Regions from separate parts of the Homo sapiens genome. Here regions 2, 3, 4, 5, 6 and 7 are each linked to region 1. Evidence: promoter capture Hi-C in 16 types of primary human blood cells and fetal thymus (Javierre and others, 2016). All regions are on one chromosome and are shown on one strand. The core of a region is centred on a gene start or on the middle of the fragment in contact, and the rest is flanking DNA. Distances in the headings are between cores, read along the strand shown. Region 1 holds the start of AQP11 (aquaporin 11). Region 2 holds the start of OMP (olfactory marker protein). Region 3 overlaps MYO7A (myosin VIIA). Region 4 holds the start of KCTD14 (potassium channel tetramerization domain containing 14). Region 5 overlaps MYO7A (myosin VIIA). Region 6 overlaps MYO7A (myosin VIIA). Region 7 overlaps MYO7A (myosin VIIA).

Region 1 (2,747 bases), core at 154-2,653:
GATTTCCTCCTCCCACTTAGGACTAGATTGCCCACTGCATCTGAGATCTGTCAAAGTAAACAAATGGTTTAAAAGAAATCAACAGATTTCTCAAGAGTTATATTTTAAAAAGCATCTTTAATTTGAAGCAAGTTATCATTTAAACATTTTTCTTAATAGGTCACTTAAAAGTTCATGTATAACTCAAAATGAATTATTAAGGAAATAAGAAATTTCATAACTCAAAATGAATTATTAAGGAAATAAGAAATGACTTTAAATCATTTATAGGACTAAAATGGAACTACAAAATTTCTACCCTCCGCTCTTATACTAACCAATCATGTGCCTTGTGCTTTAAATCGAAAGGAACTTTGTAAAGCCAGGATCATTTTTCAGTAAGAGTATCCGAAACGATCTATACCACCTTGGCATGAAGAAAGAGGCAGTTAATAAGTTATCTTTCCTTTCTACCATTAAAACAATCCCTTTGTAGGATATCTGAACCCTTGGCAATATCTCACAGTATCTCAGTTTCAGCACAGAGGTGGCTCCTTTCTCTGGGTGTTCAAAGCAGCACTGCATGAAGGCTCTACGTGTCGGCCCTACTGGTTAAGAACGGGCTGCAAAATGGTTAGAATAACGGGGATACCAGCATTTACATCATAGCGGGATAGACGGTTTCAAATGTATTTTAGTAAAGAACTTACAGCCTCATGTCATAGAGGCTCTGGAAGTGCCAAGTATTTGGTGAGAATGACAAACCTGCATAGACCAAAAAGGTGATGAGTGCAGCCAGCAGGTGGATACGAAGCTTGGTTCGGACTTCCTGGAAGTGCAGCAGAGCGCTGTGGAAGAGAAAGGAGCAGACGGCCTCTGTGATGACCGCTTTGAGCAAGTCGACTCGGATGGGATTCTTGCAAGCGAAGCTCCTCTCGCTGACGTGATACTGGGTCAGACCCAAGCTCCACAAGGCGCTTGTGCAGTACCTGCTGCACAGGGCACTAACCAGCTGAGCCAATAGCCTCACCGCACCCGTCTCGGGGGACATGCCCCCCAGCATCATCTGCATCATCACGCCGCACGGGTTGCTGGACGTGCCCACCAGAGTCAGGCCATGCACAAGCGAGAAGAAGTAGACGAGCGTCAGCGTCCAGGTGGGGTGCGCGGGGTGCTGTTCGCTCAGCAGTTGCAGCTCGTGGGTGCAGCAGCAGAGCTGGAAGGTGGCTAGAAACTCCAGGACGAAGGCGTGGGCCACCGGCCTGTGCAGCTGCTGCCGGGCGACTACGCGGGCCAGCCCCATGAGCAGCACCACCGACAGCATCAGTCCCAGCGAGGTGCAGGTGTCCTGCAGCTCGGACCGGAGCCCCAGCAGCGGCGACATGGCTCCGTCGCCGCCTGAGCGGGTTGCGGGCTCCGGCTCTGGGTAGGAGGCGGTCTCCAGGCCCGAGTCCGAAGTCCGCAGCCCCTCCCCTCCTCACGCCCCTCGGGGCGGGACGAGCGGGAGGCTCCCGAGCGGCACACTTAAGAAGTCCTCCCCGCCTCCCCGGCTTGGCGCTGGGGTGTTGGAACCAGAGCCGAGGAGGCGGGGAGGCGGGGAGGCGGGGAGGCGCGGGGAGGCGCGGGGAGGCGAAGGGAGGTAGCCTAGGGCGCCGGCCGCAGGGCCAACGGTCAGCCGAGCCCACCGCGCACTCACCCTCCGCAGTCTCCCTCAGGGCCTTGTAGGCGGGCGCGGCGGCGGAGGGCCGGCGCGGCGCGGTCGACGCAGCGCTCTTGGTGCCCACTGCGCACGCGTGCTGCGGCCCTTGCGCCCCTGCGGGCGGTGACACCCGGACCACGGGGCGGAGAGGAGCGGCACGGCGCGGCGGAGCTCTGATGGTTGCTTTGCAGCGAGGACCTTAGAGTTTTTCTTTCCCCGCTCCACACTGTAAAACCGTGGAGCTGGAAAGACCGCTGAAGGCCATCTCACATAGCCACCTCGTTTTTATCAATGGGCGACTGAAATTGAGAGGGGAGACGCGGCGCAGGGGGCGGGTGAGTTAGTGGGCGTAGACCGGTGCGCAGGGCCTCCTGGAGCCTTGCTTTTCTTCACCTGCCAAAAAACATTTCTAAAAATGGTGGTAATATATGCCAGATAAAATTCGCCACTTTAATCAATTTAAGTGTATATTTCAGTGGCATCGATTACCCTCACAGTGTTGTTCAACAGTCACCTCTTTTTTCCAGAACTTGAGCGGTGATTCTTCAAAGTGTAGCCTAGTTTTAGCATGTGACTGTCTATAACCTTTGGCATGAACTCTTTACGTATAATATGAAACAGTTGTGTCTTACTGTTACATGCACTCTTCGTGAAGAGGAAACAACAGGTAACTGGAGAGGTCTGTTTCCAAGAACTGGGGGTCCTGGCGCACCTCTTCCATCTGCTTTGAAAGCAGGAATACGGCTGCGTGAGGTGGAGCGCGTCCGGAGTCCCAGCACGGAGAGGCTTAGGTGGGAAGACCGCTTGACCCCAGGAGTTCCAGGCTGCAGTGAGCTGAGATCGCGCCACTGCACCCCTGCCTGGGCCACAGAGCGAGACGCTGTTTTTAGAAACAAAAACAACAACAAAAACCGGGCGCGGCTGGGCGCGGTGGCTCACGCCTATAATCCCAGCACTTTGGGAGGCCGAGGCGGGCGGATCACCGGAGGTCGGGAGTTCGAGACTAGCCTGACCAACATGAGAAACCCCCGTCTCTACTAAAAATACAAAATTAGCCGGGCATGGTGGC
Region 2 (2,747 bases), core at 116-2,615, 490 kb after region 1:
GAACTGCAGTCTCCTAGCTCAGCAAGCCCCCAGGCCAAGGTCATCCGGACCAGGCCCCTGTTAAGAGCCATCCTTGAACCAGCAGCAATGATGAACAGATAATCTAAAACTGCACTTGTTCCTAGGGTAGGAATAGACCTCTAGAATACATCCATATGAATACAGCACACTCTGTCTCATGGATATGTGTGCGTAGAGACAGATCTCTGTGTAACCTCCCCCTTCACTTCTCCACCCTGAAGTCAGGCCCAGAAGAGCCACAGCTGGGCCTACACAGCCTCCAGGGTGCCAGCCACTCTCCACTGCCCAAATCCACCCCTGCAGCAACCCTGCCCCATATCCTGAGGGTTGTCGACGTGTTATGGGACCAGCAGCCCAGACACAGGCTCCGGCAAAGGGCACCAAGGCCAGGGAGCAGTGAATGCCGGCTTGCTGGACTCCCCGTGGAGACGCCCCATCATCTCTGTCTCCCTGACTCTGGAGGAAGTGGATGCTGGGTTTTTCAATCTCTGTCTCTGTGTCTCTCTTGGTCTTTCTCAGTCTCTCTCTCCCACAATGAAGCAGAGAGAAGGCAGATGGCCCTGGCCTCACTGTCCATGCACACTGGCCCCTAGTAGGCCTCTATCGTCTATAGCAATGCAGCAGCCAGTCCAGCTTCTAGGCTATGGAGCCTCAGAATCTTCTTCCTGTGAGCTGGAGTGCTGGCCCCAGGGAGAAGCAGAGGAGGAAAGGTGTGGGACTCAGGGGGCCTCTGGGCAAGCAGAGGACAGGCTGAGCAGCGAGAATAATGGCCCCAAAAATACAGGGGGGAAAGTGGCAGGGGCAGGGGAGAGCACAGGTGGGCTAGAGGAGAGCAGCAGCTGGCAGCTGCTGTCAGAGCTGGTTAAAAACCACGGAGGCCTTGAGGTTGGCGGGCTCCACACCCTCGCCAAAGGTGACGAGGAAGTACATGACCTTGCGGATCTTGGCCAGGTCCGACAGGCGCTCCCCAAACTCCAGGGCGTCGGCCTCATTCCAATCTATGGCATCCGAGTCCTCCTTGCGCCAGAAGATGGCAGTGGGGTCCAGCAGCTGGCGTGTCATGAGGTTGGTGAGGTCAGGCGTCCAGTTCTGCGAGGTGCCTGTGATGGTGACCTTGCCCGGCTTGTCCAGCACGACATTCCAGCGCTCGAACTGTAGCCGCTGCTGCTGGGTGAAGTTGAGGCGGTACACAGACTCCGCTGGCTGCAGCAGCTTCTCCCCATCCTGGCGCTTCTCCCCGCGCTGCTTCAGGCTCTCCACGCGTAGCCGCATCTGCCTGGTCAGGCCCTGGTCCAGGACCAGCGGCATGTCCAGCTGCGGCTGCTGCGGCCTGTCCTCCGCCATGGCCCAAGTGCTGCTGCCACCAACGCCAAGGACCCAAGTGGGCTGGAGCCTGGGGCCGTGGAGAGAAGAGGCCACCAAAGGGGGGCCCCACCTACTTTCTGCCCTTCCCTCTTCCCCTCCCTTTGCCACTGGCTCTTCCCAGCCCCACTCAGTTCTCAAAATGGGGTGTGTGTCAGGGGTGGGAGTCCCCATCTGCCTCCACTCCAGTCCCCGCAGAAGCGATAATGCAGGCCCTGCAGGCAGGCGGAAGGTGGCAGGTTCCTTGGGGACCAGGTCGCTGATGTCAATTGCTGTGGCAACCGCCCTGACTACCAGGGCTGGGCTGGGTGCTGGCTTGTTTGTGAAGATGAGAGCACTTCGTAAGTGCACTGATGGGGAGGGTGGTGGGGACCACTCCTCACTGGAGGTACACAGGAGAAGATGCAAGACCCGCAGGAGCAGGTGGAGAAGGCAGGACCAGAGAGGGCTTGGTGATTGGAGATCTGAAGTCACCTAAGTTAAACCTTGGAGCTACCCCTGACGCCCGCCTCCCTCTCACTCCTCCACACCCAATCACCAAAGCCTGTCGATTCTGCTTCCCAAACACCCCGGGACCCTTCCCCTCCAGTCCCATTGACAGGATCTCAGCCCAGCTACCGTATCTCTCACCCAGACCCGTGGTTCTCAAGACTTGAGTGAGCATCAGACTCACTCTCAGGACTTAACACACAGATTGCTGGACCCCCTCCCAGAACTCCTGGTTTATCAGGGCTCTGTGGGCCTGAGAATCTGCATTCCTAACCACCTCCCAGGTGACATGCTGCTGGGCCAGGGACTGTGCCTTGAGCATTACTGACCCGGATGACACTGATGGCTGGCTGTGCCGCAGCCCTGCACCATGGCCACAACAGGACAAGGCTTCACTTCTACCCAAATCCCACCACTTACTCCACCTGAATTAATCCTCAGTTTCCCCCAGGGGCCGAGGAAGAATCTGGCAAATGTTTATATCCCCAGGGCCCGGGGCGGAACCAGAAGCTCAGCCTTTATACTGGGGAAATGAAAGAACTGGAGTGTGAGTGGAGCCGGAGTTGGGGAGAGAGTGGGGATGGGAGTTGGGGAGCGGCCGTCGCCACAACACGCCACACACAGAAAAGAGGACAGAGTCAAGGCCAAGGTATCACAACGGAAAACAATCTGAAGGGTCTAGTGGACCACAAGCACGGTCAATTGTGAGATGGTGGCTAATCAATCAGTGGGATCCTGGGCTACCTGAACAGCAGAGGGGCACCAAGGGAGACAGAATACCCGGTCCTGTTAAAACCACACTGCAAGCCCTGGGGTCAGTTCTGGGGGTCATTGGCAGAAATTCCCCCAAGGGTATTTGAGAGAACCATACAGCT
Region 3 (2,747 bases), core at 91-2,590, 450 kb after region 1:
GCAGTGATTATGGAGTCTACGTTCTAGTTAGAGGTGGTGACAAAAAACTGAGCAAATAGATCAGCACGATCACTTTGGATACTGGTGAGTGCTGTCAAGGAAACAAACAAGCCAATGGTGGAGAATGACAGAGCCAACCAACCTAGACCCAGTAGCCAATGGAGCCGCTCCATGGAGGGAATCGCTGAGCTGACACCTGAAGGGTGACAAGCAGTCAGCCAAGGGAAAAGCAGGGGACAGTAATCCCAGCATAGGAAACAGCACATGCAAAGGCCCTGCGGCAGAAAGGAACAGCCAGGAGGTAGGACCTGATGGGCGAGAGGGAGCTCAGAGAAGTAGGCAGGGTCCAGGACACATAGGCCCTTTGCTGGCCTTGGGATACAAGCTTAGATTTTATTCTAATCCTAATAAAAGTATTCTTTTTTGGGTGGTACTCCAACTCCCTAGGAGTTGGGACATTCTAATAAGAATATAACTTAATATCAAGTAAAAAAAAATGTAACAACTTATAAAACTGATTCACAATGAAGTAAACCGTGGTAATGGTCTGACAGAATCTGTTCTGGGCTAGGAGTCAGAAGACTGGGTTTCAGGCCCTACCCGGCCTTGGGTGAGTCGCTGACCTCTCTGAGCCTCAATTTCCACATTTCTCAGTGAAGGCTGAACTCAGTGAGTCCAAGACCAACTCATTACTGTTTCAGCCTCCTCTTGTTCCCATCAGAACCAGCTACAGTCATGCATTGTTAATGTCAGAGATAAGTTCTATGCAAACATATGAAGTCATCGAGTGTACTTCACAAACCTAGATGGTACAGCCCACTACACACCTAGGCTGGATGGGGTAGCCTCTTGCTCCTACACTACAAACCTGTACAACCTGCTACTGTACTGAATACTATAGGCAGTCATAATCCATAGTGTGTATTTGTGTATGTAAACATATCTAAACATACACATAAAAGGTACAGTAAAATATGGCATTATAGTCTTATGGGACCACTGCCATCTATGTGCTATTTTCCAGCCACAGCTGCCCCTGTGGACCCTCTCTTCATGTGAATGGGAGGTTGGCACATGATAGAGTCAGGCTAGTCCCAAACCCAAACTTCCTCCCAGAAAAAGTAAGAAAAATTGGAGAGGCTTGGGCGTGGAAGAGAACTGTTTACTGAGCATTCACTGTGGGCCTGGGCTCCACAGGCTGCATCCCGTAAACTGCCCCATATAATCCTCACAGCTGCTTGTGTCCAAGCCCCAGCTGCACTCCCTGACCCTGGGCTTACCCCTGACAGCCACCCCACACAGGGTCTGCTCCCCTTCCCCACTGGCCTGGAGCTCCCTAGGGTGGGGCTGGGTCTGAGTCCCTCATCTGTGGCTCCCCAGAGCCCAGCCCAGAGCGGGCCTCGGTGAGAGAGAAGGGGTGGGGAGCGTGTTCGCTTGTGGGCAACAGCATGTGGCCAGGGGACTGTCTCCAATTTCTCTCCTCAAAGAGGTCAAGAAACGTGCCCAAGGTCACACAGCTGTTTTGTGGCAGAGCCAGGACTGAAGCCCAGGTCTGACAAACCCCAAATCCAGGGCTCTTTCCTGACATTCCCTGGGCCCAGTCCCACATGCAGCTCACTGAGCAAAACAGGAAACACTGATAGAGTCCTCCCCCGCCCAGATGGCTCAAGGGCCCTGAAGGCAAGCTGGAGACTTAGGCTGAGGGCAGCTGGAAGGCAGGGGTCTCTCTGAGTCACCTGTATCCCTCAACCCAGCACAGGGCCTGGCACACAGAAAATGTTTGTTTCCCCTGGGAGAAGATAAAATAACCAAAATAAAAAAAACTTCATGTGAGCAGGAAATGGAGATTCCGAGAGGCTGAGTGAAGCTCTTGGGGCCACACAGCAAACAGACATGACTACAACTCTTCTTACTTAGGGCTGTCACAGAGGGCAGTGACCAAACTATCTTGCTCTAGGCCAGACTTGAGGAAACAGTTTCAGATGGCAGGGGAGAGGCTTCAGGGAGAATTCTGGGGTCTTAGGACTTCTGAAGGGGAATATTCCTGTGGCCCTAGGGAAAGTTCTTGAAGCATCGCAAGGCAGGCAGGTTGTAAGGATCCTCATTTTACAGCCGAGGAAACTGAGGGCCAAAGAGAGAAAGGAACCTGGCCACAGTCACTCATCAAATCAGTGACTGACAGGACTATTAGCATCTGGAGGACAGAGCCAGGACCAAAATCAGGGTGGATCAGGAGTCACTGGCTCAGAGGGAGAAGGAAGGGAGGAAGGAAGCCATGAAAGAAGATGAAGCTTCATTGAGAGGCAGGAGGGAGGTGAGAATGGGGAACCAGGCTCCAGGTAGGACCCCACCACCCCCTCCCATCCCCATGGCTAGCCCCAGGCACCCCACCACTGCATCTGGCCCCATTCCTACACCATGTTCCGTGACAACTTTACACACTGTATGGGGCGCCTTGCTTGGTACTCACCTTGAATGGAAGATCTCGTTTGTGACACGACACATGCCTCAGTGTGGCTGTGTAACGTGGGGCAAGTCCCAGCTTTTCTCCTATCAAATATATGACCAGGGCAGAGGGTTTCCCAGGCCCTGCCAGCTATGCAGGCTCCCAGCCCGAGTCGTGCCTTCCTAGAATGGGTCTGTTCGAATGTTCTCAGGGGTACTCCAAAACCCCTGTGGGGCCTCCCCCCAGGAAAGCCAGCACATATCCACAGTGAACACATAGGAGATCTGGCTTATAGTCCCAG
Region 4 (2,747 bases), core at 182-2,681, 430 kb before region 1:
CCCAAAGTGCTGAGATTACAGGCGTGAGCAACCGTGTCCAACCCTATTCCGTTAGTTCTGTCCCTCTGTAGAACCCTGACTAATAGAGTCATTTCTGGTAAATGCTAATGTTAGACAGAAACGAAACTTAACATTAGCCAACCACAAGCAGCCAACTAACATACAATTAAGTAGCTGTGGACTTTTCAACAAAGGAAACCAAAAAAGGAGATTTTTTAACTGTAACCAATTTTATATATATATATGTATATATATATATATGTGTGTGTGTGTGTGTGTGTGTGTGTGTGTGTGTATATATATATATATTTTTTTTTTTTTTTTTTGAGAGGGAATCTTTGTTGCCCAGGCTGGAGTTCAGTGGTGCAATCTTAGCTCACTACAATCTCTGCCTCCCGGGTTCCAGCGATTCTCCTGCCTCAGCGTCCACAGTATCTGGGATTACAGGCACATGCCATCACACCCAGCTAATTTTTGTATTTTCAGTAGAGACGGGGTTTCACCATTTTGGTCAGGCTGGTCTCGAACTTCTGACCTCAAATGATCTGTCCGCTTTGGCCTCCCAAAGTGCTAGGATTACAGGCGTGAGCCACCATGCCTGTCCCCAACAAAATATCTTGCTTCCATATTCTCCCCATAAATATTTGCCTCTGATGCATTGTCATGGGAACACTCAACCTCTTTCCATCTGGTGTTCCCCGATTCAAGAATTGCCTGTTACTCAAGTATACTCTTAAAAAAGTTTTGTTGATCCTCAGACTTTACATTTTAACACCACCCTACCTCCTAGAGCGCCAGTTTTCTGATCTGTAAAATGGGTGTTGCGGATCTTTCACTCCCTAGGACTGTAGGGAATAGAAAGTCTCTGGTTGTCAATGTCAGTCAATGTCAATTCCTTCTGCCTCCCCCATTTCACTACTGGGAACTCCGAGGCCCAGAGAGGGGCATTAACTAATGTCAACTTTAATAACGGGATTCAAGCAATATGTTTAAGTAATTTATTTAAGCGTAAAAGAAAATATAGGAAGAGGCAAGTTGCCGTGGCTCAGGCCTGTAATCCCACCACTTTGGGAGGCTGAGGTGGGAGGATCACTTGAGCCCAGGAGGTTGAGGTTGCAGTGAGCCTGATCCGCCACTGCACTTCAGCCTGAGCGATAGAGTGAGACCCTGTCTCTGAAAAAAAAAAAAGAAAGAAAGAAAGAAAAGGAAGGAAATTAATCTATATCAAAAGGTCAGTCCTTAAGGGGTCTGCTCCATTTCTCGGTCTCCAAAGTCAGCCCTTCTCAGGGCCTAACAACTTTTAGAAGCCCCAAATAGACAGACTGTCCATTTCTTTCTGCACTTGGCCCAGTCTCACTGCAAGCCACGCCTGGCTCAGCCCCGTCCCGCCTTGAGCCTCGGTGTTCCCACCTAGGGGCGGGCAGCCAGGGGCACTTCCGCTGGCCCAAGTGATCTGCATGTGGCAGGGCTGCGCAGTGGAGCGGCCAGTGGGCAGGATGACGAGCCAGACCCCTCTGCCCCAGTCCCCCCGGCCCAGGCGGCCAACGGTAAGTGCGAGGCTAGCTGCGTCCCCGCGCCTCTGTCCTCCGCCTCTTCCCTCCGCCTCTTCCCTCCCTTCCAGTTTCTCCTGCCCGTCCCTCCCAGACGCCCGAGCCCCCTGCTTCTGGCGCGCTGTCCCCCTTCACCTCGGGCTGGTCGCTCTCTTCAATCTTTGCCGTCCCTCCTGCTGGGATCACTCTCCTTTCGCGCCTCGGTGTCCCTTTCTGGTTTGGCTCTGTCCAGCCTTTCCTCTTTGCCCTTTTGCTTCCTCCCTCTACATTGGGTCTTTAGTTCCTTTCCCTTGTCTCTTCCCCACCGGCTTGTCCTAGCCCACGACTCCTCCTCTGCCCCACCTTCTCCCTTGCTCCCGGTGGGAGAAGCCCATCCAACCAGCTCGGCCAGAGGATCTTTCCCTCACCTGCAGCCCTCTCCAGCCTGCCCCTGCCCCTTGGCTGGGTCTTCAGCCTGCCCCTGCCCTCTGGCTGGGTCCCAAATCCCTCTGCTTGCCTGCCTGGTCCCCAGCTTGGGTGAGGGGAGTTGGGGAGGAGGATGGGGAAAAGGCTGCGTGCACTCTGGGAGCAGAACATTCGGGTTCTCTCCTGCACTGAGAGTCATCCTGAAGACCTGGAGGAAGAGAAAGCAGATCCAGCAGCAGGGCAGCGTGGCTCTCTCTAATAGGGCCATGATCACGTCATTGTTGTTGGCTATTGACAAAGCCACATGCCTAGTGCCAGGACCACCCTAGGTGTTCCATAAATGCCTGAATGAATTACTGGGGAAGTGTAAGGCACTGTGCATGATGCCAGGTAGGGCAAGATTGGCCTTGAACAGAATACTAGATGCTCCTGTAAATCAGAGGATATTCCCCTCCCTTAGGAGCCTCACAGAGTTTTTGTTTGTTTGTTTGTTTGTTAAAATAGAGATGGGGTCTCGCCATGTTGGTGAGACCCAGGCTGGTCTCAAACTCTTAGGCTCAGGCAATCCTCCTACCTCAGCCTCCCAAAGTGCTGGGATTACAGGCATGAAACACAGCACTTGGCCAGGAACCTCACAGTCAATGAAGAAACAGGGAATTGCAAGGGAAGAACTGCCAGGCCAGTGGAAGTATAGTAGTGTAGGACTTTCTGGGATCACAGTGAGACAACCCACCCCGAAGGACTCCCAGAGGAATTCATCTGAAGGATGAGTGGGGTCAGAGAAAGGAGTGC
Region 5 (2,747 bases), core at 84-2,583, 430 kb after region 1:
GCCTAACGACACATTCTCAGAAATGACGTTAAACGATGTATGGCCATAGCATATGATTCCACTTATATGAGGTACCTAGAATAGTCAAACTCACAGACAGAAAGTAGAACACAGGTTACAGGGGGCCGGGGGTAGGGGAAGGAGTTACTGCCCCATGCTTGCAGAGCCTCTGTTTGGGGCGGTGAGAAAGCCCTGGAAATAGATAGCAGTACTGGATGCACAGCACTGTGAAGTACTTAGTGCCACTGAATCCAACACTTGGCCATTTTAGTCAAGTTCATATATATATATATATGAATAATCACAATTTTTAAAAATCTTTAAAATTCCGGATATCTTATTCCTGGGCTGGAGCAGGGGAAGGCAGGGCCACGGGCAGGGAGTGACAGACAGCCGGCAGCCCTCTGTACCTTGGGTCTCATAGTAGACGATGCCTGCAAAATGGTTGATGCCAAACTGGGTCTCATGGTTGTTCTTGGGGGGGATGTAGTTGGCGTTGAGCTTGTGCTGGGAGTTCAGCTTGTGTAACATGGTGGTGTCTGTGCCCTGGGGAGTGGAGGGGCAGCTGTGAGCCCACCCTCTCCTCCATGGGCCCCACTCCCCTCCCTGCCCATGTCTTTGCCCCCTGTCTCTTCTTCAGGAGCTTCCCCTCCTTTTATTTCTACCTCACATAGGCGCTCTCTGGAACCCCATTTCCCCATCTGTTAAGTGGATGAATTGGAACTACACAACTTTGAAAGTGCATTCCAGTTTAGACAATCGATTTCCCAAGATTAAAATCATGGGTGCAATCCCCTCTCCCCCTCCCCAACTCTGAGATATACACTGTGTCCTGAGTACCCATTCCATGCCAACTGCATGCATGGATCTTCATGGCCTGGCCCAGAACCCCATGGACTGTAGGTGATTCCCAAATGGCAGATGCCTATACTTGAATTGGCCCCTGAGCCAACTTGAGAGGTGGGTATCATTAGTCCTATTTTGCAGATGAGGAAAGCCGGGGCTCAAAGCAGGGAAGGAAGCTGTGCGCACCCAAGACCCTGGGAGGCGGCAGCAGGACCGGCCCACCTTGGGGAACTTGCTCTCCTCATCGATGAGGGAGATGATGTTCATGGGCTTGTTGGCAATCATGTCCAGGGCATCCTGGTTGTCAGTGAACTCGATGTGCAGCCAGTCAATGCTCTCCAGGTCATATTCCTCCTGCTCCAGCTTGAACACGTGCCGCACAAAGAACTGCTGCAGGTGCTCATTGGCGAAGTTGATGCAGAGCTGCTCAAAGCTGCAGGGGCACAGGGATGGGGTAAGGGTGTTGTTCAGGCCCCACCATGCTGTTCAGGGCCTGGCTCTGCCTCCACCTGCAGCATGGCCATTAGCAAGCTATCCCCATCATGGACTCCAAACTCAGAGGCGAGGGGAATTGTCAAGTCCACCTCCCTCCAGGTGCAGAGGAGGACACGGAGGCCCAGCAAGGGCAAAGGACTTGCCTAGGGTCACTCTGTGAGCCAGAAGGAGAGCTAAGGCTTTTCAGGACTCTTTCCCTGGCATGATCAAGCCCTGGGGAGGGCTGGGGATTGGCAGGTGGGCACCCAAACCCCAGGCAGATGCCTGGGAGAGAAAGACCCCAGAGGCTGGCTGGTGGGCCATACAGGGACATCAAAAGTGGCCTTGGGAGGTGGGAAGGGGGTTGACAAGACTTGGGAAACAGAGCCCTGGCTGCAGACATGGCCGAGCCACGGACACAGCCCAGTATGTTGAGTGTGGGTGTTTTGGTGCTGGAGGGCTTTGAGACATCCAAACAGCAAGGGAACTGATATGACTTGCCAGGTCCTGACTTTCCAGCAGGAAGTGGGGCTCCAGGACCCGCCTGTATGTGACACCACCCATCAGTCCCTCACACGGCCCCTAAAAGGCACAGAATCCCAAGGGTGGCGGAGACCCCAACACAAGCGTGGCACAGGCCTGGCCTCCCTGCTTTGAGGCGCCTTGCAGCATGGATCTGGGCAGATCGGCAGTGGCCAGTGGGTCCTGGAGACCAGAGGTTTCCTCCCCAAGTGTTCAGGATGCGTACAGCCTCCTGACAACCCCAGCCAGGCTCAGCTGACCTTGAGGAGGTGAGGGACACGAGGGGATGGGAAGGAAAGGGAGAGGGTCCACCGTGATGACGGAACAGCCTGGCAGAGTGTGCCAGGAGCCAACTAAATGTGCTTCGCAAGGGAGAGACGTGATATTTCTTATTTCCATATTGGGGAAGGAAATTCCCATGAGCAGAGCCCCACGCGGTACCTGTTCACAGCAAAGTTCTCAAACCCAAAGATGTCCAGGAGGCCGATGGACCTGCGAGAGTTCTTCACATCCTGGGAGGGAGGCTTGTAAATTGCTGCGTTGATCTTGTCCACAATCCACACGAACAGCCGCCCGTAGATCCCCTGAAAGGCAGTGATCAGCCACTGGCACCAGCCACACCCTCCCCCGGGGGACAGGCCAGGCTCCTGGACCCTTCGTGGTGTCGCTCCAGCCCTTGTGTGGAACAAAGTGCCGTGTGAAACCCCCAACCCTTTACTTGAGCTGTTCCCTCTGCCTGGAGACCCCTTTTCCTGCTTGAACAGTTCCTACACATTTTTCAAGGCTCTGTTGAGATAACAGCTCCTCTTGGAGAAGCCTTCCCTGACCATGCAGCAGGGGAAGGAGCCCTCCTTGGGGCTCTCATCTCTATGTCCAACCCTGTTTATCTCTGAGGTCCCCGAACC
Region 6 (2,747 bases), core at 110-2,609, 410 kb after region 1:
ATATTATAAAAATAATACTGAGATATTTTATATTCATTTTTCCCCCACCAAATCTTCAAAATCTAGTATTTCACACTTAAAGCACTGTGTCATTCGGACAGGCCACACTGCAAGTGTTCAGTTGCCACTGTGGCTGGTGGCTCTCTATTGGGCAGTGTAGCACCCTCGTGCCGTCAGCTGGCTTGTGCTTTTACCAGGGTGTTATCTCAACAACTAGAAAGGGGCTGCTGAGGGCCTGGGCCTCTTCCTCTGGAGCCACCACAGCCCTTCATCCTTTTGCATGGCACAGGACCAGGTGCCCAGCGAGAGCTCAGGCAATGCTGGCTGAGTGGGTCTAGTGTGGCCATTCTGAAGGATGGAAGGAAGGCTGCAGCACCGGGTGACAGATGAGAAGCCAGCCTCGGGGAGGGGACAAGCCAGCAAGTGGACACCTAAGGTGCCTGGAGGCTCTCAGCTCACCTGATGCTTGCGCTCGGCCTCCTCCTTGGCCTTCTTGGCGCTCATCTCCTTCCGAAGCTTCTCTTCCTCCGCCAGCCGCATTTTCTCAGCCTCGAGGCGCCACAGATACTGAGGGAAGGGGGCATCCAGAGGGCATGGAAATGTGTGTAGCTGTTGTTGCAGGGATTCCCACCAGCTCCACCCACCCAACTCTGAGTTCTGGAACTGGGCATGACTTTGATAGGACAAGTGAGGTAATCAAGAAATTCTCTAGGTCACCCAGCGGGCTGGAGGCACCACTGATCCTAAAGCCCGGCCAGATCTGCGTCGGTCTCCCAGAGATTCCCAAGAGTGACTGAGGTCCCAGCCCTGCCCTTGGCTGAGAGGATGGAAATGAGGGTCTGGTCCCAGGTATGTGCACTCCTCAGAGCAGGCATAACTGCAGGTCCCCCCTATAGGTCCCACTTCCTGGCCAACACCTGAGGGTGATGCATGGACACTCCTCGCCCAGGGGTCAGAGCTGTGGGTGCTATGGACTTGCTCCCTCACCTCAGCCCTGAGGCGTTGGTGCAGCCTGCGGGCGATCATGCCCCGGGCATAGGCCTGCACGGTGAGCACAGCCCAGAGGCGGTGGCGGAAGGCCTTGCGCACCAGATAGGCGCGGCAGCGGGCCTGGAACTGGATGATGCGCTGGCGGGCCAGGCGGTACTGCTGGTGCAGCTTCCGGGAGCGGTGCAGGGCCTGCAGCCGCAGGAAGCCCAGACGCATCTGCAAGGACAGCCACCCCATGCTCAGAGCCTGCTGTCCCATTCCAGACTGACCCTGCCTGCAGGAGCTTCCATGGCACCGGCCTCCACTCTCAGACAGGCACCCCCAGAAGGCGTGGCCCAGTCTCCTCTCAGATTAGTGCCCCCCCATCGTTAGAAAGTTCTGTTTCCTCTCAGGCAACATATTTTTAGGTGACCTTGACTCTCCCTGAGTTGGGGCCCCCAAGAGAATCCTAGATCAGGAGCTGCAACCAACCAGTCTGCTTCCCATCCAGCCCCAACAAGTCCTAAGCCCAGCTGCTGCACAGAGGTCCATGTGACCCAGCCACTCTCACCCTGTCTGAGATCTCTAATAATCCCAGAGTGCTCCCAACCCCCAAAAACACTCCAGAAGGAGAGCAACAAACATTGCTGGCCAGTTGGAAGAAGCCACAAGAGCCAGATCCAGACTTCGGTCTGGAGGAATGGTAGTGGCTGGCCAGGGCAGTGGCAGGAGGCCAACGAGGCCAGGCTGTGCTGCCTGGGTGCAGGCCAGTCCCACTGCCATGGCAGCAAGGCTGGGTTCAAAGGCCTGTTTGGGCAAGAGCAGCCCATGGGGAGGCTCACCAGCCCGTAGTTCTTCCTACAGTTGTGACCCCGCCAGTGCCTCTGGATCAGTGTGGCAGCGTTCTTCAGCTTCAGAAAGTTAGACCTGAAACAGCAGTAGTGGCGCGGGTGAGCAGTGTCCAGAGGCAGCCAGGGTACAGGTGGGTTTGGGATCAGGAGGGCACGCTGAGTCCCAGCTCTGTGACTTCCTAGCTATATGACCTTGGGCAAGGCACATAACTTCTGTGCCTCAGCTTCCTCATCCGTACAATGTGTAGAATAATGCCTGCCCTGCCTGCCCCACAGGCCTGTCACATAAGCCCATGAAGGTAGACATTCAAAAGGTATTTGTTGAATGAATAAATGTATGAAAAAATAAGTAATTAAAATAATATAAAGATCAAAAGCTTTGAACAGTCTAACTTCCTCAGTTTATACATGAGGCAACTGAGACTTGATAGGTTGGGACTAGAGCCCATGTCTTCTGACTGACCCTAAGTGAGCCCAGTGCTGTTCCCCCTGCACACAGCAGGCTGCTTCTATAGGAGAACAGTCATCTTCAGCCTGATAGAGGACAGAGACCATGCACAGACAGCAGGGGTCTGCTGAATGTAGAAATAAATAAAGGAAGAGCGAAGGATGGGTGTGCAAGTATGCAAGTGAGCCAATAAGTCAATGCTTGGAGACACACATAAGCAAATGAGCAACTGTGGGAGTGGGTGGGTGAATGGATGAATGGAGGAATGAATGGGTAGGTGGATGGGTGGGTGGACTGATGAGTGAATGGATGGGTGGGTGGGTGGATGGATGGATGGTGGATGGGTTGGTGGGTGAATTGATGGATGAATGTGTGGGTGGATAGGTGGATGGATGAGTGACTAGGTGGGTGTGTGGGCGGGTGGATGGATGGATGGATGGATGGGTGAATAGGTGGGCAGATGGATGGATGGATGGATG
Region 7 (2,747 bases), core at 126-2,625, 390 kb after region 1:
TCCCTGCCCTGCATGTGACCCGAGGCGAGTCACTGGCAGTCACTGGGCCTTTCTTTCTCAGCTGTGAAACCCCAGCGGCGAGAACACCACGGGCTGTGCCCCAGCCTCCCCCACCACCCTGCGCCCCCTGTAGAGCTCAGTGCACAACGCCTCCATCAGGAAGCTTCTCACTGCCCCCCACCCCCCGCCCCAGAAGCATCCTCATCACAGTGCTGGGCACGCCGAATCCCAGCTGCCTGCTTCCAGCCCGCATCCCCACCAGGACTCAGTCTCGAATGCCCAGCCTGGGGTGGGTGCAGTGACATCTCTTGAAGGAAGGAAGATAAGATGAGACACATAGGACGGGTCATCCTGGCAGACAGAAACAGCCCTCCAGCTCCCTCTGACCCAGGCCCTGCTCACAGGTGGGGGCTTCACAAAGCAGCCCCAGCACACGACCAGACAGTAGCGGAAGCCTGCAGCTCCTAGCCCTGTGGCTCCCATCCTTCCCCAGGAGGCATCACCTGAAGTAGTCATAGGAAAACTCCTCCAGCGTGTAGGGCTTGGCACGCACCTCGGGCTCCGCCGTTCGCAGCTGCAAGAGCCGGACAACGTCCTGCCTCTGATCGGGAGTCATGGTGACCAGGGCCTAGGGACCAAGAGACAGGGGGCTCAGGTCAGCTCTCTACCTGTGGCCACCAGGATCAACATGGTATACCCTGAAGCCTTCTGGACTCTGGGAGACTCTTCAGGGGTATGGACCCCATGCCCCATTCTGACCCTGGGAGCCCCGTTCCTCCTTGGGGTCTCTGAGGTCCCTGCTGCCTCCTTTGTGCTGAGCTCAGGGCCCTTCCCCAGGTGTCTGATCAGGTTGGGTCAGTCAGAAAGCCTGGACAAGGCAGCGGGACATGGTATGAGAGCTGCCTCGTCCACTGAGCCTGGCTCAGGAGCCACTAGGGAAGCTGGGCTGTGAGTCCTCAGAGCTGCTCTCAAGGGGGCTCCAGAAGAAGCAGGGCCCCCTTCCCAGCTGTGCCCCCACTGCCTGTTCAGACAGTGCGGGTGATACACCTCTCTCCAATCCCCACCCCCGGCCCCACCCCTTGGCAGTTCCTCATCTGATGCCATTTCTAGGCCCCTCCCCACCTGGCACAGGTTTGAGCACTGCCCCAACTTTAAATGTGTGTCCCATAAGATCCCAAGATCATCTTCACAGATGCACTAGACCGTTAACCTATTGTACAGCTGTGGGAAGTGGACAAAGAGGGGTCTAATGGCACCTCCCACCCATCTGCCACCCCCAGGCCACATACCACAATCTCCCGCGGTGGCATGGTGACAGTGGGCATGACGTACACACTGTCGGTGGGGAAGTCCCCACGCTGCTTGGTCCTCTCATTGATGCCGTTGGCCCAGCCCGAGTTCATGACCTGCTCGCCCGTGTCATGGTCCAGGATGATGAGGTCTCCCTTGGCAAAGCTGAGGAAGCCTGACTCCTCGCCTGCTGTAGAGCAGAGGTGAGTGGGACCATGGGGGCAGAGACAGGCTGAGTTGGAACATCTTCCCACAGAAGAACTGAGGTGTTATCACTCATGTCTGCCCACTTGCCACTCTGCCTCCACCTTGTCACAACTCTCCATACAGAGACCATCACCAGAGTGGGCTACTCTCCTGCTCAAAAGCCTTCCACGGCTCCTCATTGCCCTTGGGAGGAAGCCCCACACTCCTGGGCCTGTTGTGAGCGGGCCTCCCAGACTCCTTCCACCTCGCCTCTCCTCCCTCACTGTGCCTGTTCCCAGCCAAACCAAGCTGTTCGCAGTTCCCTGGACAGGCCAGCTTTCTCCCGCCTCTGTGCTGGCATCACGCTTAGCTCTCTGCCCCCTGTGCTCTGGTCACACGGGCTTCCTCCCTGGACCCCAGTCGGCATGGGGCCTCTCCTCTGGGCTCCTGTGGCTCTGGGCTTCCCTGCTCACTGCACTGTCACAGGCCTGTCACTGTCTTCTTCCCACCCCCCTCCCCACTGAGGACAGGGTGGGGTCCATTTCATCTTTGTCTTTCCCACACTTGGCCAGGGCCTCGGTAGCCTCAGGCAGAGTAGTTGTTACTGCTGTTATCACTTGAAGATGGTGGGTCTTTTGGGAACACTGAGGAGGACCCTGATCTAACTTGGAGAGCTGACAGGAGATGAGTATTGAAGAGCCAGAAGAAGGGAGGGAGAAGAGGTTCCCCACAGGCTACAGATTAAAGGCACAGGCTTCTGCTATTTGGTCTAGCTTCAGGGGAAAGATGGGAACAAGATCCTAGCAGCCTTGAGTGCCAAGGCCAAGGCCACGGGGCATGGTCTGTGATATGGTTTAGATATTTGTCCCCTCCAAATCTCTCTGTTGAAACTTGATCTCCCAGTGTTGGCAGTGGCCTAGTGTGAGGTGTTTGGGTCATGGGAGTGGGTCCCTCATGAACAGTGTGGTGCCGTGCTCACGGTAATGAGTGAGTTCTCACTCTATATAGTCTCTGTGAGAACTGATTGTTTAAAAAGAGCCTGGCACCCCCTGCTCTCTTCCTTCCTTCTGATGCAGGCACCCCTTCTCCTTCTGCCATGAGTGGAAGCTTCCTGGGGCCTTCATCAGAAGCAGATGCTGGTGCCATCTTTTTTCTCTTTGTTTCTTTTCTTTTTTTTTTTTAAGAGAGGAGGTCTCACTCTTGTCCAGGCTGGACTGCAGTGGCACAATCATGGCTCACTGCAGCCTCCACCTCCTGGACTCAAGTAATCC

The links. The method cuts DNA at HindIII sites, captures the fragments that hold promoters and counts their contacts. A CHiCAGO score of 5 or more calls a contact.
Region 2: a contact is called between the fragment with the promoter of OMP here and the fragment with the promoter of AQP11 in region 1, in 1 of 17 cell types (neutrophils). The highest score is 5.8, in neutrophils.
Region 3: a fragment that was not itself captured here is called in contact with the fragment with the promoter of AQP11 in region 1 in 2 of 17 cell types (M0 macrophages and endothelial precursors); the score reaches 6.4 in M0 macrophages.
Region 4: the fragment with the promoter of KCTD14 here is called in contact with the fragment with the promoter of AQP11 in region 1 in 1 of 17 cell types (non-activated CD4 T cells); the score reaches 5.0 in non-activated CD4 T cells.
Region 5: a fragment that was not itself captured here is called in contact with the fragment with the promoter of AQP11 in region 1 in 1 of 17 cell types (M2 macrophages); the score reaches 5.6 in M2 macrophages.
Region 6: a contact is called between a fragment that was not itself captured here and the fragment with the promoter of AQP11 in region 1, in 1 of 17 cell types (neutrophils). The highest score is 6.5, in neutrophils.
Region 7: a fragment that was not itself captured here is called in contact with the fragment with the promoter of AQP11 in region 1 in 1 of 17 cell types (M1 macrophages); the score reaches 5.4 in M1 macrophages.

What each region holds. Positions count from the first base shown.
Region 1 is chr11:77,588,609-77,591,355 of GRCh38, reverse strand. AQP11 (aquaporin 11) reads right to left here and starts at 1,403. Exons shown (of 3, transcript NM_173039.3): 1 at 745-1,403. The coding sequence starts at 1,363. RefSeq lists a silencer at 1,427-2,056. The HindIII fragment of the contact is 3,851 bases long and covers 796-2,747 here.
Region 2 is chr11:77,101,458-77,104,204 of GRCh38, reverse strand. It overlaps OMP (olfactory marker protein), which reads right to left and starts at 1,365. Exons shown (of 1, transcript NM_006189.1): 1 at 874-1,365. The coding sequence starts at 1,365. The coding sequence ends at 874. The region is part of intron 3 of CAPN5 (calpain 5); the gene reads right to left. The HindIII fragment of the contact is 17,255 bases long and covers 1-2,747 here.
Region 3 is chr11:77,139,204-77,141,950 of GRCh38, reverse strand. All of the region lies in intron 2 of MYO7A (myosin VIIA), which reads right to left. Among named protein-coding and RNA genes, the nearest start is that of MYO7A, 12 kb to the right of the region's middle. RefSeq lists an enhancer at 1,375-1,941. The HindIII fragment of the contact is 1,906 bases long and covers 388-2,293 here.
Region 4 is chr11:78,021,960-78,024,706 of GRCh38, reverse strand. KCTD14 (potassium channel tetramerization domain containing 14) reads left to right here and starts at 1,431. Exons shown (of 2, transcript NM_023930.4): 1 at 1,431-1,547. The coding sequence starts at 1,458. The region is part of intron 2 of NDUFC2-KCTD14 (NDUFC2-KCTD14 readthrough); the gene reads left to right. LOC124902723 (a long non-coding RNA gene) reads right to left here and starts at 2,164. Exons shown (of 2, transcript XR_007062795.1): 1 at 1,686-2,164; 2 at 985-1,173. RefSeq lists enhancers at 937-1,504, 1,505-2,074, 2,075-2,642. The HindIII fragment of the contact is 5,224 bases long and covers 1-2,747 here.
Region 5 is chr11:77,160,652-77,163,398 of GRCh38, reverse strand. MYO7A (myosin VIIA) reads right to left here. Exons shown (of 49, transcript NM_000260.4): 12 at 2,284-2,426; 13 at 1,069-1,279; 14 at 411-546. Among named protein-coding and RNA genes, the nearest start is that of MYO7A, 34 kb to the right of the region's middle. The HindIII fragment of the contact is 5,899 bases long and covers 1-2,747 here.
Region 6 is chr11:77,178,194-77,180,940 of GRCh38, reverse strand. It overlaps MYO7A (myosin VIIA), which reads right to left. Exons shown (of 49, transcript NM_000260.4): 20 at 1,812-1,896; 21 at 988-1,206; 22 at 460-567. Among named protein-coding and RNA genes, the nearest start is that of MYO7A, 51 kb to the right of the region's middle. The HindIII fragment of the contact is 1,681 bases long and covers 519-2,199 here.
Region 7 is chr11:77,200,181-77,202,927 of GRCh38, reverse strand. MYO7A (myosin VIIA) reads right to left here. Exons shown (of 49, transcript NM_000260.4): 36 at 1,290-1,480; 37 at 504-628. Among named protein-coding and RNA genes, the nearest start is that of MYO7A, 73 kb to the right of the region's middle. The HindIII fragment of the contact is 2,420 bases long and covers 166-2,585 here.